7 separate regions of the Homo sapiens genome follow, and all the other regions are linked to region 7. Evidence: promoter capture Hi-C in 16 types of primary human blood cells and fetal thymus (Javierre and others, 2016). All regions are on one chromosome and are shown on one strand. Each heading gives the region's core, a stretch centred on a gene start or on the middle of the fragment in contact. The rest is flanking DNA. Distances are from core to core; before and after follow the strand shown.

Region 1 (3,266 bases), core at 93-2,592, 400 kb after region 7:
CACTAGATCCAGGAGGGAGGAAGTCATTGTCTGAAATTTCTATAACCTTGCTCTGGATGGAGCAGGGCAAGGCCTCAAACCGTTTCAAAACTGTTCTAGCAAGCACTGAAGGAATGCATAGGGTCACCGCAGACCCAAGCACGCTGGAGGCTTGCTACCCTCATTCACCCAAATCCCCCACACTCAAGGAATCTGGCAGTCCACTCTCACTAAGCACCAGTCCCTGCTGGGGGCTGTGGGAAGAGACCAGAGTTCAATTAGGCACCTGAGCTTGGTTCCAGGAGCCCAGAGCTACTAATGACTCTCAGGGAAAGATCCTTTCTGGCTGAGGAAGAAGGGAAGGTGTCTTGGAAGAGATAACCTTATTAAATTATTAAATAGATCAGACAACACGAACTAAACTTCCACATTATTCTATGACACTACAATTCTAGCATGGCTTTTCACTGTGACCAGAAACATCCTTATCATCATGTAGTTAATATAAATACTGCCTTTTCCCCTTCATTTTTTTCTCATGTATCTTACGGCTCAGAAATCACTTCTGAAGGAGTAAGTAGACCAGGCACATGAAGTAGATTTCATTTTCCCCATGAAATAATGGTTCAGAGAAAACGCAGGCCTAGTTCCAGGAAGGCAGAGTTGGGGTCTCTGCAACGTGATTTACCGGGGCATCTTGCAAAGGAGTTGCTGTGACAGTAAGCTCTTCCACTTTGAGACCGTCACCTCAGCCACGGCTCCCACCTAGAAGGGAACAAATGCAGTTAGCTCCAAACGCAGTTAGCTTCAGCTTGTGCCTCTGAACCATTATCCAGCTCTAGCTCCTTGCAACGCCTGGCCCACTCTACAGCCTCTCTTGCGGCAGGTCTACACGCCACCCCATGCCTTCCGGTGAGGTCCCTCCTGACCACACGTCCCATCCCACCTACTGGGGTCCACCCAGGTCATGCAGAAGCCCCACTTCTCGGCTGAAAGAGAAGCACGAGGTTACTCATCAAGTAATCCCCGAGTCTCCTCCGGGTAAAATGTTCCGAACGCGCTCAACCGCCTCTTGAGAGGAAGTAGCACGTGTAGTGAAGGCTTGGTCTCCAAGAATCACTGGTGCCCCCACTCACTGCGGCCCAGCCTCCCACGCCGCCCGCCACTGAACCCAATCCCCCAGGACCCCTACCTGGGCTCAGGAATGGTCAGGCAACACGTGGGGCCCAGGATGGCGGTGGATGACTAGACTGCCGAAGACCGCGCCGCTGCGACTACGAAGTACGGAGTACGGAGTACAGGTCTGCCAGCCAAGACTGACGCCGCGCGCTGCGCCGCGCACCTCGACGTCACCGCGTAGTCCCGCCCCGAAGCCGTGCGTGGCCGGGGCCACAGCGTTTGGGGTAGATGACGTCACGCGGCCGCGGGCGCTCGCTTGGTAGGGTGTGCTGGGGCGTAGAGTTTAGGGTCCTGAGGCTGCGTCTGCGTGTCAACTCAGTGGAGTCTCTCGACCGCCCTTTGTTACCCTCCTTTAGTGACCAGAAGGCTGGAGTTACGTAATCTGCCCCTACAGCTAAAAGGACGGAGGCCTGACGGCGTGGCCTGGAGGGACGCGCTGAGCCCCTAATGGGTGGTGCCTTCCTGGTGCGGCCGCACAGGCGGGGCCGGGCGGAATCCAAGCACGATGTGGACACGGAGCCTTGGGAATGAACAGGAGCCTGCCTGTGGGAGCATGTGGGAAAGGTGATGCAGGTGGAAGGGCAAATACAAATTATACATAGGGTTTAATTTTCCCTGAGGAAAAGAAGGGACGAGAAACCATCCCCCTCCCTTTTTCTTTCAAAATTTCAGCCTCTCTCCTTTCCAAATGTACTCAAGTCTTTTTCTTATATGGCCAGGTTCAACTCAGGAATGTTTCTTGGGAGCCATCTCCTTGAAGTGTAATTGTTGGCTGGGTGCGGTGGCTCACGCCTGCAATCCCAGCACTTTGGGAGGCTGAGGCGGGCGGATCACAAGATCAAGAGATCGAGACCATCCTGGCCAACATGGTGAAACTCTGTCCCTACTAAAAATACAAAAATTAGCTGGGCATGGTGAAGCGTGCCTGTAGTACCAGCTACTCGGGAGGCTGAGGCAGGAGAATCGCTTGAACCCGGGAGGCGGAGGTTGCAGTGAGCCGACATAGCACCACTGCACTCCAGCCTGGAGACAGAGCGAGACTCTGTCTCAAAAACAAAGAAAGAAAAAAATGCAATTGTTAAGGGACGAAAGGGCCAAGAGTCCAGCTTCTTAGGAGGACAAAGGCTTAACTTGGCACCTGACTCCAAATTGCAAAACCTACATAATGTGATGGGCTATCTCTACTTAGCTGCATAGAAAAAGTGAGTTTCTGTCTTTGTGTTGCCTTTAGCAGGTTGCATGTGATGTACGGCATCACAATCTGGTTTAATACTTATTCAGTAATGGTTTTCTGTCTCTTCTACCTTTGTGGAGAGGTTTCATGGGTTGGGAGGAAACTACTCTCCACCCCCCACCCACCCCCAGGCAGAGGAAAGCACATTGAAAGGTCCTGAAATTGGGAAGGACATGGTTTGCTGGTGATACAGCTAAGTATTACAAGTTTGTAGTGTTCTGGAAGGGTCTCAATGAGGAGCGGGAGATAAGGACGATGTGTTCAAGGGTCTTGAATGATCAGGCTAGAAAAGTGAGAACGTGGTTCTATAAGTAAAAGCAGAGCAGTGCTTGAAACTCGTATTTTATGTATTGCACCTAGTAAATACATTCAATCACTTTACAGTATACAAATCCCATACTTCACTAAGTGTCAAAACCCTAACAGACAGATAAGGCAGAACTGTTACTTCCAGATTACTAACGTGGAAACTAAGCCCCACCCAAACAAGTTAAGTGGTTTGTTCAAGACCTCCTACAACAGGCTGGGCGCGGTGGCTTATGCCTGTCATCCCAGCACTTTGGGAGGCCGAGGCGGGGAGGCGGGTGGATCACCTGAGGTCAGGAATTTGGGGCTAGCCTGACTGACATGGAGAAACCCGGTCTCTACTAAAAATACAAAATGAGCCGGGCGTGGTGGTGCCTGCCTGTAATCCCAGCTACTTGGGAGGCTGAGGCAGGAGAATTGCTTGAACCCAGGGGGCGGAGGTTGCGGTGAGCCGAGATCGCGCCATTGCACTCTAGCCTGGACAACAAGAGTGAAACTCCATCTCAAAAAAAAAAAAAAAAAAAAGGACCTCCTACAACAGCCAGGGCCTGGTGCAGGTTGTCCTAGC
Region 2 (3,404 bases), core at 1-2,500, 500 kb before region 7:
CTGCCTGCCACATACTTGTTTGGCTCTTGGGCAAGCCACGTGTCTATACTTTGATTTCCTCTTCTGTAAAGCAGAGATAACATATCCACCCTGTGGGGTTGTTGTACAAAGATAGTGCCTTGTACACTCTAAGCTGCTATCATCCTCTCCTGAGTGGGTCTGGCGCACTACTGATCCCTGGTAATGTTAAAAAATCAAACACAACTGTGGGGGAATACTAGCCCCAGGTTCGTTTGCTCTCTCAACCTCCAAACTAGGGGGCACCCCCAGCTCCCTTACTCTGGGTGTTGTCTCTGTAGCCGCCATTTTTTCTTCTCTTGGTTCCCTTCCTACAAGAGCTTCTCAGTCGTGTTATTTACTCAGGCCTGAGGACAGAGGAGCCTGCGGGCTCCGGGCCTCTTGAGAAGTCAGTCTCGCTCACAGGTGGGACATAGCCCAGGCAGAAGGGCTGTTAGCAAATACGACTTTTTTTTTTTTTTTTTTTGAGACAGAGTCTCACTCTGTCGCCCAGGCTGGAGTGCAGTGGCGCGATCTCGGCTCACTGCAAGCTCCGCCTCCCAGGTTCATGCCATTCTCCTGCCTCAGCCTCCCGAGTAGCTGGGACTACAGGTGCCCGCCACCACCTCCGGTTAATTTTTTGTATTTTTAGTAGAGACGGGGTTTCACCGTGTTAGCCAGGATGGTCTCGATCTCCTGACCTCGTGATCTGCCCGCCTCGGCCTCCCAAAGTGCTGGGATTACAGGCGTGAGCCACCGCGCCCGGCCTACTGCTTATTAATTACCCCTGACCTCTGGTTTTGATTCTCGCAGTGATCCTTTAAAACACGCCTCGCCCTAATTAATAGCACCCTTTACAGAAGAGGAGATGGAGGCTCAGGGAAAGGTCACAAGACCACGAAGTGCCACTGCAAACTTAGAATCCAAAACCAGAAGTGCCATGGAAGCCCTCGCCGCGCCGCGCCGCCCCGCACCTGCAGGCGTCAAGGACGCGGAAGCCTTTGGAGCGCGCCAGGCCTGTGAGGAAGGCCCGGCGGCTGCGACCCATGCGAGGCTCGACCAGGTAGATGGCGACTCCCGGGAAGCGCGTCGAGGGCGGCGTGGAGGAAGCGGCATCGCCGCTAGGGGACCCGACCCGCGCTCGCCGCCGTTTGGGGAGCATTGGGACGACAGCCTCCAGCAGCGCGGAGCGAACGCAGAGGGAAACTCCGAGCGAGACGGAAGGAAGCCCCAGTGAGGCTGACGGAAGCGGGTGGGCGGGCGGGCGGCCGCCGGCTGGAAGAGGACGTGGCCCCGCCCTATGCAAATGAGGCCTCTCCGTGGGGCTCGCTACTTGGGCCAGTCGGAGCGCTGGGGAGGGTCCGGGCTCCTACAGGATTGGGTGTCCCGGCCGCTCCGGAAGACCCGCCTCCATGCAAATAACGGCAGAGGACCCGCCTTTTATTTAAATTAATGTCTCGGAAAGCGCTGTTCGGCCCCATTGGCCTCCGGGAGGAGAGGCTGGGCTGGAGCGGGGCGGGGAGGGTGTTGGAGGGGGTGGAGGAGGCGGGGTCAAGGGGGCGTCCCCGGCTAGGGAGGGTGAACTGGGACCTAGGCCCGGGCGGAGCGGGGTGGGCTGTGTCCTTGGCGCCGGGGCTGGGTCTAGGGTTGAGCCGGCGGCTCGGGGCGGACGCGTGCGGGCTGTGCCCGATCCCTCTGCGCTCGGGACTGTCACACGGAAGCCGGCGGGCGCAGGACCGACACGCGGGTTTCCAATGCGCTGGTGGGGCGGTCGCTTCAAACACGCGGGAAGATTTTTCAGTCGAATGGCATTAGGACAACTGGCAGGCCATTTGGAAAAATAGAAGTTGGTGCCCTTCCTCATTCCTTAACACCAAAATAAATTCCAGATGGGTCAAACATTTCCATCTAAAAAGGAAACCAACAACGTACTGGAAAAAAGTCGGTGAATGTTTTTATGATCTAAATATCACAATAAACTTGGAAACACTAAAGGAAAAGAATGATAAACTGGACTACAGACAAATTTTAAATCTGATTAAAAATTAGAGTCAGAAGATAAACTGGGATAAAGTGTGAGATATTTTGGAATTAAGATTATCTCATGATAATCTTATCAAATTGTCCATAGATAAAAAGACAATAATTTAATAGAAAAATTAGCAAAAAAACTCACGTAGATGATTCTTAGAAGAAATCCTGGTCAATAAATTTATGACCAGAGTGCCCAACCTGTCCAGTCGTTACAGAATACCTAAATGAGAATATCTTCAGTTGTGGGTTTATCAAACATTCAAAAAAATTGACCACACATGTTGAAGGTGCGAGGTAATTGGCAATCCATAGGAAGGACTGTGGAAGCCAATGTGGCAACCACATCCAACAAAATGAAAACAAAATAATACACATTGATCCAGCAATTCCTTTCCCAAGATTGGGATTGCATTGAATCTATAGATCAAGCTGGGGAAATCTGATGTCTTGATAATATCAAGTCTTCTGTCTATCTTATTTAGATATACTCCATTTGTAACCTCTGTTACGGTAGTGTGGCACTGCTCAGCCTAACTGATGGGACACCAGATCAGATGCAACCCCCTTCCACATGCCTCTCCTCATCACTGCCCCATCGTCCTCAGTCTTGAGCCCCAGACTCCTTGAGCACCTATCCTTTTTCTTTGGCTCCTCTCTGACATCTTTAGTGGGCTGGCTCTTCCCCATCTCTGCACTCAGAGCACAGGGCTGAGGGGAGTGGGGGAGATGGCTCAGCCCAGGCATCCTCTTGACCTCCTACACCATCTCCCAGCCTCCTAATTCATCTACCTCTTCAGGGCTGTAGAGCTTCCTGGGCCTCAGGACCCACATACAGAAGCCAGGAGGCCTGCGTATGGTCCCTCTCTCCCCATCCTCCCCTTGTGCCAGCAGGGATGGGCAGGCTCTAAGGGTCTTCGTCTGTGGATCTGGCTCCTACCCTTCTCAAGGAGGAGGCTCTGCCCAAATATCCCCTGAGCAGATCCCTCTAGCTGTCTAAAACCATTTCTGTTCCTTTTAATGTCCTCTGTCTGGCCAGAGCACCTGGGCTCCCCTTGGAGCCCTTGTTCTCTCCTGGGAAGGCAGAGGCAGTTTTTAAGACTATGAGACCTGAATACTTAAAACACTGGGCAACTGTGCAAAAATGTTTGTGCAAGGAATCTCATCCAAATGACAGTGGAAGAAACTGCCTAGCTTAGAAATCAGCCAGGCCCTCTGAGTGGTTGCTGCAAAGTGTCTGCTAGGACAACATGGGGCTGAAGGATTCATGAAGATTGGCCAGTGGGGGCAAGAAGGGGTGAGGAGGTGGGGAGAGAGAGGGACTTGCCTGCTCTGCAGGACGAAGATGTGCCCTATACCCAGGGAGAGGTGGCCTG
Region 3 (3,144 bases), core at 14-2,513, 360 kb after region 7:
GACACTGTGCCTGGCCCTAATGTTTTATTATATTTTAGTATTCAGTGATTTTACTGAAATCTATCATAGTTTAAAAGTTTTGTGAGCGTCATCTCTTAACAGACAACTGTCTTGCAAATAGAAAAATAAATAAATGTAAAAAAAAATTACTGAATTGATTCTTTGAATAGCCAAGGAAACTTTGTGGTTGTGTTATAAAATTACATGTGACAAAATAAGTTGAAATTCTGAAGGCTGTTTTCTCTGGGCTGGTGCTTGGCAGTCTCCCCAGCACATTCATGAATGCCATGTCAATACTCCAGGCTGTCTCCATATTTTAGAAATTCCAAAATCGATTTGAGATTTGTAACTACATTCTATAAGAAGGCTCCTGTGAGAGTAGAGTCAAAGAAAAGACTTTCTAGAAGCTTGAGAATAATGCCCTTCTCCCAGCCCTCCCCTGCACACCTGTCCCATGAAGTCAGGAGGGTGAGACTTACAGGCATTGATCATCTGGAGACTTCTGAAGGCAGGAGCAGGGTAAGAATCGAGGCAGAGTGCAAAGAGAATGGGAAGTACTGTTCCCTAGAGACAAGGACTTACTCCGATTTGAGTCTTGCATTTCTCACTGGGCACAGGAGAGGCCCTGGTGTTTCTCTGGCCTAAAATGATGGAGCATAGGGTGTAGCCAGTGGAGCAGAGGACCTGCTGCCCCATGGAGGGCCTCCAGGCTGAGCAAAGGGCTCCCCAAACAGAAAAGAGGTGGAGGCACACACGTCTCAAGGGGCCCATGGGCCGTGGCTGCTCTATTCTGGTGAAGGGCGTCCTCCACATGAGAGAGGTCAGCCCCCCAAATAAAACTGTGCATGGTCACATAGCAAGCCCCCTGCCAGCTGAGACTGCTGCATCTCCCACCCTCTAACAGCGTCAGTGACAGATGGGGCACAACTGGGCAGGAACCAGAATCATCCCCTCTTCAGCCACAACATTGCTGGGCCCCAGGTGGATGAGAGACCCTGAGGGGGTAAGACATTGGAAAAAAGATAGAGGGGATGAGATGGCATATCACCCCTCACAGACACATGCACATTAACTCTTCTCCAAGACACAAGTCTGAGCTGAACGGCAGTGGGAGCAGAAGTGGGGACCTCTGAATAAGTATAAAAGTGGATTTTCTTAATTGTCTGGATTAGTGAAAATGACCAAAAAGCAATGGCCATGACTTATAGATATGTGTGTTCCCATTACCTAATGATACCATCTGCTATAAATTTCTTAGCAGGTATTGTACCAATAAAAGCATTATTAGAAGCCATTAGAACAATGACTAAAATAATTATGGTATCAATCCTAGGACTGAGTGAGTTGGGCAGCCTACCAGGGTCTTATCTACACTGTAAAAACAAAACCTCTTACCCTGCTCTGAGTTACTAAAATGGAAACTGGAGACTTCTTTCTCCACTCCTGAATCTGAGCCACGTCACAAAGTGGGACCCATTGAAGAAAGGTGACCCTGGGGCATGTCCACAGAAATGGGCTGTGACTCTCTCTCCTAGGTGTTTCCAGAGGTGCTTGCAAGACAGCTGTGCTCTGGGGAAAGGGGAATGAGCAAAGACCCAGAGAAACCTCTGTGGACCACAAATCAGAGAGGAGCAGGTGGAGGTTGAGGAAGGTGGTGCTGTAGTGGGCCCAGTGTTCTGCAAACCCACCTTCGGTAATTTCCCAAATTGTTCATAGATGTCAGGAATAGACATACTTAGTTACTTGCCAGAAACTCTGCATTAGGGGCCGATGAGCTAGAGCTCTTCAGCTAAACTGGTTATATGTATGTAACATCTGTATCTATGTTGCTATATATGTCTATATGATCATATATACATGTTGCACGTATATATTTGTGCATGTACATTCATGTGACAAAAGAAATAGAAAGATCAATTTGACCTTTTGAAGACACAAAATTTAAAAATACAATGCATTTGTTGGAAAGAATCTAGTATATAAGAAATGTGTAATGTTCAGGGGAATTAATCAACACAAGCTGTGGTTTGTGTCACGTTTTAAACTTAATGATATCTGTAGACCCAATGGATGGCAGAAATAGAAATGAGTATTGTCCATATTTAATGATGAGGAACTTGAAGCTTTCCCACTAAGATCAGGAACAAAGCAAGGATGTTCCCTCTCACCACTCTTTTTCAACATTGTACTGGGCAACCTGGCTAATGCAATAAGATAAGGAAAGAAAACAAAAGGTATACAGGGTGACTTTTTTTTTTTGAGCGTCTTGCTGTGTCACCCAGGCTGGAGTGCAGTGGTGTGATCCCAGCTCACCACAACCTCTGGCTCGCGGATTCAAGCGATTCTCCTGCCTAAGTCTCCCAAGTAGCTGGGACCACAGGTGCCCACCACCATGCCCTGCTAATTTTTTTTTGTATTTTTAGTAGAGATGGGGTTTCACTATGTTGGCCAGGCTGGTCTTGAACTCCTGATCTCGTGATCCATCCACCTCAGCCTCTCAAAGTCCTGGGAATTACAGGCATGAGCCACCGTGCCCAGCCAGGATGACTTTTTAAAAAAGAAATAAGGCCGGGTGCAATGGCTCACGCCTGTAATCCCAGCAATTTGGGAGGCCAAGGTGAGCAGATCACCTGAGGTGAGGAGTTCAAGACCAGCCTGGCCAACATGGTGAAACCCCATCTCTATTAAAAACACAAAAATGAGCCAGGCGTGGTGGCGGGCGCCTGTAATCTCAGCTACTCCAGAGGCTGAGGTGGGAGGATCGCCTAAACCTGGCAGGTGGAGGTTGTAGTGAGCTGAGATTGTGCCACTGCACTCCAGCCTGGGCAACAGAGCAAGACTCCATCTCAAAATAAATAAATAATAAAAACTAAAAAAGAGATAAAACTTTTTAAAGATGGCATGATTGTCTATGTAGTGAATAACAAAAACAAAAACAAAACCTCCTGAAGCTAATAAACAATTATAGCAAGGTTGTAGGATACCAGGTTAATCTATAAAAGTCAAATTGCTTTGTTATATACCAGTAATGAACAATTGAATTTTTTAAGAGACAGGGTCTTACTTTGTTGTTGCCCAGGCTGGAATGCAGTGGTGTGATCATAGCTCACTGTCACCTCAAACTCCCTGGCTCAACCAGTCCTC
Region 4 (3,274 bases), core at 727-3,226, 340 kb after region 7:
CCTGCCTCAGCCTCCCGAGTAGCTGGGATTACACCAGCTACTTACGCCACCACACCCAGCTAATTTTTGTATTTTAAGTAGAGACGGGGTTTTGTCATGTTGGCCAGGCTGGTCTCGAACTCCTGACCTCCGGTGATCCACCTGCCCTGGCCTCCCAAAGAGCTGGGATTACAGGCATAAGCCATCGCGCCCAGCCCATTGGAGCAAAATTCTATTCAGCCTACAAATCTGGTCAAAAGCTTTTGATCTGTTCAATCCAAGCTTCAAGCCTACCTGTCAATGCTTTGTGAAGTATATTGAGCTGCAGAAACTTAAAGAAACAGATGAAGAGAAGTTATTTGTAGAAACAAGGAAAGCTTTATTGGCAGAAAGTGTCATTTTAAGATGCGTAGGAGAAACAAGGACTCAACAGGAAGGTAGTCACGTTTCCTGGAAATCTGAACACATGATTGTCAGACCCCAAACTGTGTTGAAAGAAAACCAGCCTCAGAAAGAAAGAAGTTCCACAGGACCAGCATTTGGAAGCACCTGAAGGACAGTTAAAAGGTCTTGCAGCTCCGTGAAGGGTTTGTATATTGTGGATACTGACATACACACTCTACTCACTAGCTCAATGTTGAGCTGTTTCTAACAGTTGAACTACATAAACGTCTCTTGATCTTGAAGGCATTATATTTGCCTTCTCTTAGTCCTTACTTCTGAGTTGTCATAAAGCTCGGTATCATGGTTTGACAGAAGCAGTTATGATCCAGAGGATTTATATAAAAGAATAATAAAAACTGAAAAAAAAAGGAGTTATGTGAACTTTCATGGTAGGACATCATTAAATAAAGAACTCCAGCTGGGCGTGGTAGCTCATACCTGTAATCCCAGCACTTTGGGAGGCCCAGGCGGACAGATCACTTGAGGTCAGGAGTTTTGAGACCAGCCTGGCCAAGATGGTGAAACCCTGTCTCTACTAAAAATACAAAAAAATGGCCGGGTGTGGTGGCTCATGCCTGTAATCCCAGCACTTTGGGAGGCCGAGGTGGGTGGATCACCTGAGGTCAGGAGTTTGAAACCAGCCTGGCCAACATGGTGAAACCCCTTCTCTACTAAAAATACAAAAAAATGGCATGGTGCGGTGGCTCATGCCTATAATCCCAGCACTTTGGGAGGCCAAGGCGGGTGGATCACTTGAAGTCAGGAGTTTGAAACCAGCATGGCCAACATGGTGAAACCCCTTCTCTACTAAAAATACCAAAAATTAGCTGGGCATATTGGTGGGCGCCTGTAATCCCAGCTGCTCAGGAGACTGAGACAGGAGAATCGCTTGAACCTGGAAGTCGGAGGTTGCAGTGAGCTGAGATCGCACCATTGCACTCCAGACTGGGCAACAAGAGCGAAACTCTGTCTCAAAAAAAAAAAAAAAAAAAAGCAAAAGCAAAACAAAACAAAAAAATTAGCCAGGCGTAGTGGCACATGCCTGTAATCCCAGCGATTCTGGAGGTTGAGGCAGGAGAATCACTTGAACCTGGGAGGCAGCAGTTGCAGTGACCTGAGATCATGCCACTGCTTTCCAGCATGGACAGCAGAGCAAGACTCCATCTATAAGTAAATAAATAAATAAAATTCCCTAGGTGCTTAAAAACAAAGGAAGAGGAAAAAAAAGGAGGTGCATCTAACATCTAGGAAGAGCACCTGGGGGAGCACCTACTGGGAGCACCTGAAGGAGCAACTCAAGGGCCACTGGCAGGAACCTCCGGGAAGCGCAGAAGGCATGTGTGGGGAGAGATTGGTGGGGGTTGGGTGTTCTTACCTACTGAATGGGCGGGCTAGATCAAGAGGTGACAACCTGGAAGAGAAATGGGGCTAGAGACAGGCTGGCTGTAAACCAGTGGTTGTCGAGGAGATAGCATCAGTGAGGGAGGTGCCCCAGTGGGAGAGCCGCCCTGAAAAGGGAGGAGGGTGTCTCTCCACTGTTGAGCCAGAGCCACAAAGAGGGTTGACTCTGCCATAGAGCGGCCTTTCTTCCCAGCTATTATGTCGGCTCTGCAGGGACCCTCACACTTGATGAGTCAAGGGGCTTGTGCCTTACTGAGCAGCCAGAGGGATCCCTCTCTGAGACCCTCAGACCTGCTCCTTGCCTGACCAGTGCCAGCCCTCCTCCCCTTCCTCACCAGGGGATGGCTGAAGCATGGAAAAGTGGCCGGCAGCAGATGGTTGGGGGTGGTGGTGGGGGGCATGGGGACTCAACGCCCTGGGTTGCTGAGTCCTGTGAGACCTGTGGCCCCGGGACACCCCACCCCAGGCCTGGGCTCTCAGCAAGAATGCCATGTGGAGCCTGTCAACTAGCCCGTCAACTAGCACTCTCGCGCCCCCTGGTGGCCGTCCCTGATGAGGTGGGTATAGGACATGGTCCCAGTGAGAACTTGTGGCAATCCACAGTTCATGCCTACGTTCATTCATTCATTCATTCTTGAAATATTTGGGGAGTACCTGCAGGCCTCCGAAGCTCTATGCTGTCCACTCTGGCACCCACACGTGCTCTGAGCACTTGAAGTGCAGCGAGTCCACTGGAGAAGTACAGTAAGTGTAAAGAGTACACTGGCCGTCAAAGACATAGTGCACACAATGTAAAATGTAGTATCGATCATTTTCATATTGATGATACATTGAAATTATAATGTTTTAGATCAACCATTTTAAATAAAATATGATTACAATCAATTTCACCTGTTTCTTTTTTACCGAGACCAGCTGGGTCGGGGAGACCCTAACCTAGTGGTGCTAGAGGAATTAAAGACACACACACAGAAATATAGAGGTGTAAAGTGGGAAATCAGGGGTCTCACAGCCTTCAGAGCTGAGAGCCCCGAACAGAGATTTACCCACATATTTATTTTTTTTTTTTTTTTTTTTTTTTGAGACGGAGTCTCGCTCTGTCACCCAGGCCGGACTGCGGACTGCAGTGGCGCAATCTCGGCTCACTGCAAGCTCCGCCTCCCGGGTTCACGCCATTCTCCTGCCTCAGCCTCCCGAGTAGCTGGGACTACAGGCGCCCGCCACCGCGCCCGGCTAATTTTTTGTATTTTTAGTAGAGACGGGGTTTCACCTTGTTAGCCAGGATGGTCTCGATCTCCTGACCTCATGATCCACCCGCCTCGGCCTCCCAAAGTGCTGGGATTACAGGCGTGAGCCACCGCGCCCGGCCTACCCACATATTTATTAACAGCAAACCAGTCATTAGCATTGTTTCTATAGATATTAAATTAACTAAAAGTATCCCTTATGG
Region 5 (3,245 bases), core at 369-2,868, 450 kb after region 7:
CTCATGGAAGAGAAATAGCACTTAGCCTGGTTTCCTTCTGGGGACTGAATTGGTCCTTTGGTCTCTGAGGTTCAAAGGTGACAAGATCATTTAGTGGTGATGAACAGGCATACTCAATCAAATACATGTTGAATGAAGAATGGTTGCCTGGGCTAATCCCACCTTTTAAATTCTATGTGTCCATCTATAGTACATTCTAGTGAGTTAAAGAACCCATGATGGTTTACTGGAATCCTGATTCTGTACATTAAAAATATGCTAAACCATTTAATTATTTCCCTCGTTCCTTCCAGACAGGGTCTCACTCTGTTTCCTAGGCTGGGTGCAGTGGTGTGATCACAACTCACTGCAGCCTCAACCTCCCAAGCTCAAGTGATCCTCCCACCTCAGCCTCCTGAGTGCCTGGAACTACAGGCTAATTTTTAATATTTTTTAGAGACAGGTCTCGCTATGTTGTCCAGGCTGGTCTTGAACTCCTGGCCTCAAGCGATCCTCTTGCTTTGGCCTCCCAAAGTGTTGGAATTACAGGTGTGAGCCACTGTGCCTGCCCTCAATTTATTTTATTTATTTTTTTCTTGAGACGGAGTCTCACTCTGTCACCCAGGCTGGAGTGCAGTGGCGTGATCTTGGCTTACTGCAACTGCTACCTCCCAGGTTCAAGCAATTCTCCTGCCTCAGCCTCCCGAGTAGCTGGGACTACAGGTGTGCACCACCATGCCCGGCTAATTTTTGTATTTTTAGTAGAGACGGGGTTTCACCATGTTGGCCAGGGTGGTCTTGAACATCTGACCTCAGGTGATCCACCTGCCTTAGCCTCCCAAAGTGGTGTGATTACAGGCGTGAGTCATTGCACCTGGCCTCGATTTATTTTTTAACTAGAACTTTCCTTTAAATTTATTTTCTTTCTTTTTTTAGATTTAAAGAGAACAGGGCCTTGCCCAGGTGCAGTGGCTTACACCTGTAATCCCAGCACTTTGGGAGGCCGAGGTGGGTAGATCACTTGAGGTCAGGAGTTTGAGACCAGCCTGGCCAACATGGTGAAACCCCATCTCTATAAAAATACAAAAATTAGCCAGGTGTGGTGGTGCACACCTGTAATCCCAGATACTCGGGAGGCTGAGGCAGGAGAATCGCTTGAGCCCGGGAGGTGGAGGTTGCAGTGAGCCGAGATCACACCACTGTACTCCAGCCTGGGCTGTATAGTGAGACTCCAGGTCAAAAAAAAAAAAAAAAAAAAGAGGGCCTTGCTTAGTCACTTAGGCTGGAGTGCAGCGGGCAGTCATAGCCCACTGCAGCTTTGAGCTCCTGGGTTCAAGTGATTCTCTCCCCCCAGTCTTTCAGGTAGCTAGGACTACAGACGTATGCCACCACGCTCAGCTTTTTTCTTTTTAATTAATAATTATTATTTGTTTTGAGATGGTCTTGCTCTGTCACCCAGGCTGGAGTGCAGTGGTGTGATCACAGCTCACTGCAGCCTTGACTTCCTAGGCTCAAGTGATCCTCCCACTTCAGCCTCCCAAGTAGCTGTGACTACAGGTGTGTGCCACCATGTCCTGCTAATTTTTATGTTCTAATTTTTGTATTTTTTTTAAAAGATGAGGTCTCACCCTGTTGCCCAGGCTGGTCTTGAAGTCCTGACTCTAGTGATCCTCCCATCTTGGCCTCCCAAAGTGTTGGGATTACAGGTGTGAGCCACTGCGCCCAGCCATCAGCTTAAATTTTGTGTTCAAAAGCAACTTCTTTTCCAAAAATCTGAGGTGGCTTCTTGTTCAGTTTTGTATCTGGAATAGCAGAGAGCTCTTCCCCAGCACCGGCTGTCCCTCCTACCACCCCCTGCAGCTGAGAGCTGAGCAAACATTACCTCTGAAAAGCCCCATCATCCTCAGCGAGAACAGCAGCTACCCTGCATTCCGTGCTGAATGGGTAGGAGTGGCAGAGGGAGGCTGCAGCAGATGTGCAAAGATGCATTTCTTTACTTAATAGTGTTAATATTCCACTTTCTAGGAAGGCTTACCCATCAATTAAAATTATTTGAGACATTAAAAAAAGAAACTTAGGGTAGCTGCTATTGAAGACTAAGGACTAGGGCCAGAGAGACGCCTGCCTCCAAGTAGTCCACAGAATCTGCTTGTTAAAATGTTCGTGATTTGGAGGCCCAGGTAGAAGGGGCAGGTTCCTCTGAAGCGCCTTGGCATGCCCTATCTTTGGCGTTCCGGGGTCGCCCTCCTCTGCTAGTCTGTGAGCAGTCAGAAGGTTGTATCTCCTGTTCATTCCTCTCCTTGTCTCTTGCTGCTCAGAACAGCAGCTTTAAGAACAGGGTGGCTGAGCCCTAAGTGTACCTTTGGAGCATCCTGTGTGTCTTCAGCATTGATTGACTGTTTTTACTGTGGATTTAATTTCAGTTACTTTACTCTGGTCTTACTACTTCGGCTTGACTGTGACATCGTTGAGGGCAGGGGCTGTGTCACCTCTAACCAAAGGGCCTCCCCAGATGCCTAGCCTGGTCCAAGCGTTCCATCAAGAGTCAGTACCAGCGTTTATTGCTGTCCAGTCTGTGCAAGCTCCATGCTGGCTGCTGGGTAAGAGCCAAGGGCAGCCAGGCCTAATGGCTCATGCCTGTAATTCCAGCACTTTGGGAGGCTGAGGCTGGTGGATCACCTGAGGCTGGGAGTTTGAGACCAGCCTGGCCAACATGTTGAAACCCCATCTCTACTAAAAATACTAAAATTAGCCAGGCATGGTGGTGGGTGCCTGTAATCCCAGCTACTCCAGAGGCTGAGGCAGGAGAATTGCTTGAACCGGGGAGGCAGAAGTTAAGTGAACCAAGATTATGCCATTGCACTCCATCCAGCCTTGGTGACAAGAGCAAAACTCCGTCTCAAAAAAAAAAAAAAAAAAAAAAAAAAAGAGCAAAGGCCAGAGGAGGAAAGAGCTGAGCTCGATGTAGGGAAGAATTGATGTGATGCTTGGGCAATAAGAGGCATCTACAGATGGCCGTCCTGGTTTCCTTGCCCTGCAAGAGTTCCTACTATTTCTCACTGCCTAACTGCAGAGGGTCTCTCTTTAGGGGTGGGATTGTAGGACGGGGGAGCGCCAGAGTCCTTCCCAGTGCAGACTGTAATTCTGTGTGGAGACTATAATTTTATGACCTGTACATCAACATTAAAATAACAGTGTAGGTTGCATGTGGTTTGTGGGACCTGTTGATTTGGTGTGGGCTTCTTGGTTAGAGGTTGATCTTGGCA
Region 6 (3,354 bases), core at 260-2,759, 480 kb before region 7:
TGCCGAGATGTGGTGCCTGGGAGGTAGAGCCAGAACCTGACACAGTCCCACTGCTTTTTCAAGGAGATGCAGTGAGAAAGCAAAGGCAGGGTCTTGGCAGGACCAGGTGTGAGAGGAGGCAAGGCCTCCTTGTGGTCCTGCTCCCAGGGGGTGGCATGTATCCCAGGCCCAGCAGCCTCCACTGTGGCCTCCCCGGCTGCTGCCTGCTCCAACTCACTCGGGGCTGCTCTGGGGACCCAGGTGCTTCCTGACCCACTTTTCCTCTTTCCTTTTGACCCCAGGTCCAAACTCTGCCCTGTCAATCATCCCAGGGGCTCCTAGGCTTCCCTACCTGACTACTTCACTGGGGCCAAACCCCGCAGACAATCGTGGCTTAGGGCTGTCTGCCTCTGCACTTGGCCCATGGACTACCTGTGAGCTTTCTCTTGTGTCCTCATTCCTTTAAGGGGGAATGTCCTCGGAGCTCTGTCCTTAGCTCCCCATTCCTCCAGTATGAGACAGGGACTAGGCTTGAGTCACGGGGGACTGTGCTGTGTCACGCCCTGCCATACTAATGGGACCACTCTGCCTGTTGATGGCCGTTGTAGGGCAGCCAACATTTGCCCTGGAGAAGCCTTATGGCAAACACCAGGCACCAAGGTGCACATCCCTGATGGATCCTGGGATCAGTTGACACTCAATCCACCTGCCTTCTGGGTCCTCTGGGCCCTCTGGGTCCATGTGGCAGCTGGAGGTATGGTAGACACTTTTTAAAAAATGAGTTCTGGTAAGAAGAAGGTGATAAATGGCTATTTGTCCACGTTGGGACCCGGAGGGGAGGGATGGCATGCCCTTACATGGGACTCCTACCCCCAGCGGGGCAGCTGGCCACTCTGAGGGCAGTTTTGCACCTGCCTCCTGGCTGGAAAGTGAGTTCCCACTGTGCTGTCCCTCCCTGGGGCCCAGCACGGGGCCCGGCCCCACACCGACCTGAAGAGGTTGGTAGGATGACTGAATGAATTGACGCTGGGATGCAGCAGGGCCCATGGGCAGAGGCTCCAGAGCCTGGGAAGGATGGGGTGGCCTTTCTGTGGCCCTCCGAATTGAGAGAGGTCTCAGAGGCCTGACACCACGGCTTTCCGTCCAGGGTTCCTGGTCACCCGCGGAGGGCTCAGAGCCCCGGTGGACTCGGGGTCCCGCCTTAAGGGGGGTGCCTAGGGCAGAAGGAGGAGGGATGTCGGCCCCCTCAGACCCGCACCCCAGGCCCTCCCCACCACCTTTCCTTCCCTCAGGCCCTCTGTCTTCCCAGTCGCCCCGCCCCCTGCCCCTCTGTCCTAGGCGCAAGTCTCCGGGCTTGGGACGCTCGCCGCCAGCGCCCGCCCGCCTGCCCCGCCCCTAGCCCCCCGCCCCCCGCCCCCCGCCCCCCCGCAGCCCCTCCGTCCACTCTCGGCTCCTCCTTCTCTTCCTCCTCCTCCTCCCCGGGGGTGGGGAGCCGGCTCCGGAAGCCCCGGCGCCCCCGCCCCGGGCCCCGCCAGCGCTTTGGAGACGGCTATCCGCGCGGGAGTGCGCCACGCGGGGCCGGAGCGCCTATTAGCCGCCAGGACCTCGGAGCGCCCCGACCACCCCTGAGCCCCTCTGGCTTCGGAGCCCCCCAGCACCCCTTCCCGGGTCCCCTCGCCCACCCTAATCCACTCTCCCTCCCTTTCCCGGATTCCCTCGCTCACCCCATCCTCTCTCCCGCCCCTTCCTGGATTCCCTCACCCGTCTCGATCCCCTCTCCGCCCTTTCCCAGAGACCCAGAGCCCCTGACCCCCCGCGCCCTCCCCGGAGCCCCCCGCGCGTGCCGCGGCCATGGCGGCCGTGCGCGGGGCGCCCCTGCTCAGCTGCCTCCTGGCGTTGCTGGCCCTGTGCCCTGGAGGGCGCCCGCAGACGGTGCTGACCGACGACGAGATCGAGGAGTTCCTCGAGGGCTTCCTGTCAGAGCTAGAACCTGAGCCCCGGGAGGACGACGTGGAGGCCCCGCCGCCTCCCGAGCCCACCCCGCGGGTCCGAAAAGCCCAGGCGGGGGGCAAGCCAGGGAAGCGGCCAGGGACGGCCGCAGAAGGTAAGAGCCCAGGGCAGGGCGGGGGTGTGGGGGGCTGGCATCTCAGGTGGGAACAGGGGGATTCGGTAGGGTCTGGCCACTCCCCAGTCTGCTAGGGGAGGAATGGCTGGCTTACTAATGCGCACGCGAGCCCAGATGCCTGGAGGGACCCTGTGCTAGGCCGAGGTCAGCGCTGGCGTGGAGGCACATCCAGCACCCGGGCGGCAGGGCCGCTTTTGGGGGCCGGTGGCTCTAGGGTTGGTGCTGTGGTTGTACGGGTCGCTTATCCCCATTCCTCCAGTACGCGACAGGTACTAGGCTTGAGCCACAGGGGACTGTGCTGTGTCACCCCCTGCCATACTAATGGGACCACTCTCCCTGTTGGTGGCACAGCTTCACGTCGTCCCTCCCTCCTGCCTTTGCCCTCCTACTCCAGGAGGTCTCACGTAGGTGAGAGAGTTTCAGGTGGTGGTGAGCACAGGGCTTCAGGTGGTGGTGAGCAATGGGTGGTCCTACATTAGTACAGGAAATTAGATGAGGTGATGCATCACTGAAGCATTTAACCCACGGCCTCTTGCATAATCAGTTGTCAGTAAATCTTAGCTGTTTTCATCGTGGCCCTCTGGAAGGTGGCAGAGGGTCTTGTGATCCCTGTCTCCCAGGAGATTCCAAGGCACCATCCAACATTCCTGATGTCAGCAGCCCCTCCCCTGCCACCCCAGCTCTAGATCTTTCCTGGCTGCTTCCCACACCCTGGGCTGCCTGTGCCCCTCCTGCCTCTGGCTCTCCTTCCAGGCTTGCTCTCCTGGCTCTGGGGCACCGCTCTAGCAGCCCTGCGTCCCCTGGCTGTCTGCATTTGGTAGCTTTCCTGTGTTTCTGCCAAACTTCCCTCATGCTCCCCACCTCTCATCAGGTTCTCAACAGCACTTGCAGCTCCTGCTTAGGGTCCTGGGAGGATTCCCATGGGGAATCCTCACAACCAGTCCCTGCTCCCTCTCCCAGACTCTGAAATGAGTGTGCAGCCACAAGCTCCCTACCTGTCTTTTCTGTCCTCTGTGTGATCCCTGAACCCCCCAGGACTCCCTATCCTTCCAATCAATTCCAAACCCCTTACTTCTCGAAAGGAGACCACTTCCTCTTCTTTGGGCTTCAATACTCAACCAAGTGTCCCTTTTCTTTGAAGCTTTTCTTGCCCCGTAGGAGACCAGGGGAAGGTCTTGGGCCCATGTCCCTTCCTTTGTATGGCAGTTGGCAGGGATGACCAGATGCTCCTCCAGGCCTGGATGGCTCAG
Region 7 (3,446 bases), core at 837-3,336:
GGTGTCAGGACAAAAGGAAACGGGAAGTTATTGTTTATAATAAGTACAGATTTGCTGGGTGCAGTGGCTCACGCCTGTAATCCCAACACTTTGGGAGGCTGCGGCAGTGGATTGCCTGAGGCCAGGAGTTCAAGACCAGCCTGGCCAACATGGTGAAACCCAGTCTCTACTAAAAACACAAAAATGAGCCACGCATGGTGGCACTTGCCTGTAATCCCAGCTACTTGGGAGGCTGAGGCAGGAGAATCGCTTGAACCTGGGAGGCGGAGGGTGCAGTGAGCCGAGATGGCGCCACTGCGCTCCAGCCTGGGCAACAGAGCGAGACTCCATCTCAAAAACAAAACAAAATAAGTACAGATTTTTAGTTTGAGAAGATGAAAAAGTTCTGGAGCTGGATGATGGTGTTGGTAGCACAACATTATGAAGGCACTTAATACCACTGAACTATATAGACAGTTAAAATGACACATTTGGTGTTATATTTTACCACAATAAAATGTTTTGATAAAAAAGCAAAACAGGCAGGGCGCGGTAGCTCACACCTGTAATCCCAGCACTTTGGGAGGCTGAGGCGGGCGGATCACTTGATGTCGGGAGTTCGAGACCAGCCTGACCAACGTGGAGAAACCCCCGTCTCTACTAAAAGTACAAAATTAGCCAGGCATGGTGGCGCATGCCTGTAATCCCAGCTACTCAGGAGGCTGAGGCAGGAGAATCGCTTGAACCTGGGGAGGCGGAGGTTGCAGTGAGCCAAGATCATGGCATTGCACTCCAGCATGGGCAACAAGAGTGAAACTCCGTCTCAAAAACAACAAACAAACAACCTATCTAAACCAATACTTCTCATTCCATTCTCTGCAGAGCTGATCTCCCAAGCAGAAACTTGAGTAGGTATAGTGGGTATAAAGGTCAACTGCCCTCTCAAATTACAAGGAGATATGCACTTGCCCTTTGGTAATCCTGCTCCTTCTGAATCTGTTCCACCTGATCAAGCAACTGGCGGGCGCGGAGCTGTAGCTCCGTCAGCTTATCTTTTGCAGCAATCTCAGGGTAGTTGTTGGCATGCTCCCCAACCTGGATGTCGAGATGCACCCGCTACAAGGAAACATGGAATGTATGAGTGGTGGGGCCTCCAGTTGTCTGTTCCAGGGTATGGAACCCACTATTGTCCCTGGCTGTGGAGCAGAAGGCAACATCTGTCTCCCCAATTCTGACTGTGCTACAAAGTTTCACAATCTTGATAAATCAAAATTTGGAAACAAGTGAGAGATTCTAAGCTGAAGCCAAAGAGAAAATCCTCTTACCAGTTTGCCACCAGCGAAGAGAGCCATCCTGGTAGAATTGGAGTGCAGACAGATTTGATGGTCACCGGGCGTGTGGGAGGTGAACGTGAAGCGGCCCTCCGAGCCGTACTGCCGGGACAGCACCACCTGCAACATATGTGAGTGAAGGCCCCACCTTTATACCGCAGGCTCTCCAAGTGCAAGTTCCTGTCCCTTGAGGCCTCCTCCAGGCAGTGCTTTACACCCCACGGGAGCTCCACTGAAGAACGGCTGCGTGGGCCAACGCCAGCCTTACCTTGCCGTCGGGGTCCTTCACTTCCACGTGCATGCCCAGGCCAGGGGTCGAGGGCAGGAAGACCTCCTTCTGCTTATCCCACATCTGGGTACGATAGTTGCCTGCGGGGCAGACACATAGTCACGACCGGCCCTAGTGGGCCGCCTCTCCGCCCGGCCCCCTCCGACGTGCGGCCCGGAGCTCTAGGCAGGGGGCCTGGCGTCCTCGGGGCACCCTCAGGCTAGGTACTGGGGGAGCCAGCGACCCGGCTGGGCTCGGGAGGAGGGAGCGCCGCCGAGGGCTGAGCTGGGTACAAAGGGCCTCCCCACCCTCAGCCCGCCTGACCGATGACCATGGTCTCGTCGGGGATTTCCTCGATGAAACAGCGCTTCTCGGTCTCGCCGATGTGGAAGTAGAGCCCCTGGGCGCCTGTGGCGCACAGCGCGAGAAGCAGCAGGGCCTGCCGCCCCATCGCCCGCAGAGGCCCAGCCCCGACACCTGCCATCGCGCCTCAGCCCCTAAGCGCCTGCGCACATTTGCGCATCGCTCTGCGCCTGCGCGCCACCCTAGCGACCCTGAGAGTTAGGGGAAGAGGACGCCTGCGCAGTGATATGTACTCGCCGTCTCCTGCAACTCCATCCGTACCGAACACTGCCGCGCCCCGCCCCCTCACACAGCCCGGCGCCCGCCTACCCCCGCAACGAGAGTAGAGGGCGCATGCGCAATGACGTTCGCCCTTAATTTCTCGCCCCTTACCCCGCAGCTTACCTCCGGCATCTCGCAGGGGAGGCACGCCTGCGCAGTCACGCCCGCCCTCGGCCCCAGTCAGCGATTTGGGTCTCGGAGCACCAAGGAGACGGTGGACGGAATCTGACCAGGCTTGGTGGCTACGATGGCCTGAAGCGTGCCTTTTGGGTTCTCAGCTCGGGCTCACAAGTGTTTTCTGTGCTAAATACAAAAAGCCCTGTGATGTTTTGCTTTGCGTGTCCACCTATCTGACTCGTAAGAACCGAGGCTGAATCCAGACCCACACTCTGTCACGTCGGGAGAGCCTGCCGCGGCGAGCCTCTGCGAGCGGGCATTTCTTGGGTGGGGACCAAAAGCCCAGTGCTGCCATAGTTTCGGATCATTCTTTTAAGAAGCTGGGGCCGGGCGCGGTGGCTGGCACCTGTAATCCCAGCACTCTGGGAGGCTGAGGCGGGCGGATCCCTTGAGCCCAGGAGTTCGGGACCAGCCTGGGCAACATGGTGAAACCCCCGTCTCTACAAAAAATTAACCGGTGTGGTGGTGTGCGCATGTAGTCCCAGCTACTTGGGAGGCTGAGGCAGGAGAATCGCTTGAACCCAGGAGGTCGAGGATGCATTAAGCAGTGATCGCGCTCCAGCCTGGGCGACCGAGGGTGATACCTTGTCTTAAAAAAAAGGTGGGAGAGTGGAACGAAAACTTGGAATAAGTAGGGTCATGGAGCTTGTTTACATCCCCTAGTTACAGCACATCCTTTTGAAAGTGAAAAACAAACTGGAATGTTACTTAGTGGGCATGGAATCGAAGCAACGGAAGGTTAAAACTGTTTTTATCAAGGCCAGGCGGGCGCGGTGGCTCACGCCTGTAATGCTAACACTTTGGGCGGCCAAGGCTGGTGGATCATCTGAGGTTAGAAATTCGAGACCAGTTGGGCCAACAAGGTGAAACCCCCGTCTCTACTAAAAATACATTTTATCAACAGAATTTCGAAACTTTTATATAATAGAATAATTACAATGAACTTTCATAAAGAACTTGAGCATACCTGGATTTTGGTATCCGTAGGGGTCCAGGAATTATCCCCCTTGGATAATAACGGAGGGCTGTACTCATCATCCAACTTCAACAACAGTTTGCTGCCTTTC

The links. The method cuts DNA at HindIII sites, captures the fragments that hold promoters and counts their contacts. A CHiCAGO score of 5 or more calls a contact.
Region 1: a contact is called between the fragment with the promoter of SNHG15 here and the fragment with the promoter of TMED4 in region 7, in 5 of 17 cell types (fetal thymus, monocytes, neutrophils and 2 more). The highest score is 9.8, in fetal thymus.
Region 2: the fragment with the promoter of POLM here is called in contact with the fragment with the promoter of TMED4 in region 7 in 13 of 17 cell types (naive B cells, fetal thymus, monocytes and 10 more); the score reaches 11.1 in naive B cells.
Region 3: a fragment that was not itself captured here is called in contact with the fragment with the promoter of TMED4 in region 7 in 2 of 17 cell types (M0 macrophages and naive CD8 T cells); the score reaches 5.5 in M0 macrophages.
Region 4: a fragment that was not itself captured here is called in contact with the fragment with the promoter of TMED4 in region 7 in 12 of 17 cell types (total B cells, naive B cells, monocytes and 9 more); the score reaches 10.2 in total B cells.
Region 5: a contact is called between a fragment that was not itself captured here and the fragment with the promoter of TMED4 in region 7, in 3 of 17 cell types (naive CD8 T cells, monocytes and total CD8 T cells). The highest score is 7.9, in naive CD8 T cells.
Region 6: a contact is called between the fragment with the promoter of AEBP1 here and the fragment with the promoter of TMED4 in region 7, in 17 of 17 cell types (naive B cells, total B cells, fetal thymus and 14 more). The highest score is 11.8, in naive B cells.

The regions. Positions count from the first base shown.
Region 1 is chr7:44,985,354-44,988,619 of GRCh38, forward strand. It overlaps SNHG15 (small nucleolar RNA host gene 15), which reads right to left and starts at 1,343. Exons shown (of 3, transcript NR_152597.1): 1 at 1,172-1,343. SNORA9 (small nucleolar RNA, H/ACA box 9) reads right to left here and starts at 157; the gene lies at 25-157. RefSeq lists enhancers at 442-1,188, 1,034-1,153, 1,189-1,936. The HindIII fragment of the contact is 12,531 bases long and covers 1-3,266 here.
Region 2 is chr7:44,081,280-44,084,683 of GRCh38, forward strand. POLM (DNA polymerase mu) reads right to left here and starts at 1,251. Exons shown (of 11, transcript NM_013284.4): 1 at 972-1,251. The coding sequence starts at 1,159. RefSeq lists an enhancer at 1,025-1,525 and a silencer at 1,237-1,816. The HindIII fragment of the contact is 8,170 bases long and covers 1-3,404 here.
Region 3 is chr7:44,936,861-44,940,004 of GRCh38, forward strand. No RefSeq gene overlaps it. Among named protein-coding and RNA genes, the nearest start is that of MYO1G, 41 kb to the right of the region's middle. The HindIII fragment of the contact is 1,716 bases long and covers 406-2,121 here.
Region 4 is chr7:44,919,927-44,923,200 of GRCh38, forward strand. It overlaps the pseudogene MRPS23P1. Among named protein-coding and RNA genes, the nearest start is that of PURB, 36 kb to the left of the region's middle. The HindIII fragment of the contact is 3,245 bases long and covers 355-3,274 here.
Region 5 is chr7:45,030,165-45,033,409 of GRCh38, forward strand. The region is part of intron 1 of CCM2 (CCM2 scaffold protein); the gene reads left to right. Among named protein-coding and RNA genes, the nearest start is that of CCM2, 32 kb to the left of the region's middle. The HindIII fragment of the contact is 3,779 bases long and covers 1-3,245 here.
Region 6 is chr7:44,102,836-44,106,189 of GRCh38, forward strand. AEBP1 (AE binding protein 1) reads left to right here and starts at 1,510. Exons shown (of 21, transcript NM_001129.5): 1 at 1,510-2,083. The coding sequence starts at 1,831. The HindIII fragment of the contact is 6,426 bases long and covers 1-3,243 here.
Region 7 is chr7:44,580,145-44,583,590 of GRCh38, forward strand. It overlaps TMED4 (transmembrane p24 trafficking protein 4), which reads right to left and starts at 2,087. Exons shown (of 5, transcript NM_182547.4): 1 at 1,903-2,087; 2 at 1,579-1,679; 3 at 1,305-1,430; 4 at 949-1,095. The coding sequence starts at 2,062. RefSeq lists silencers at 1,711-1,810, 2,211-2,370 and an enhancer at 2,461-2,570. The HindIII fragment of the contact is 9,471 bases long and covers 1-3,446 here.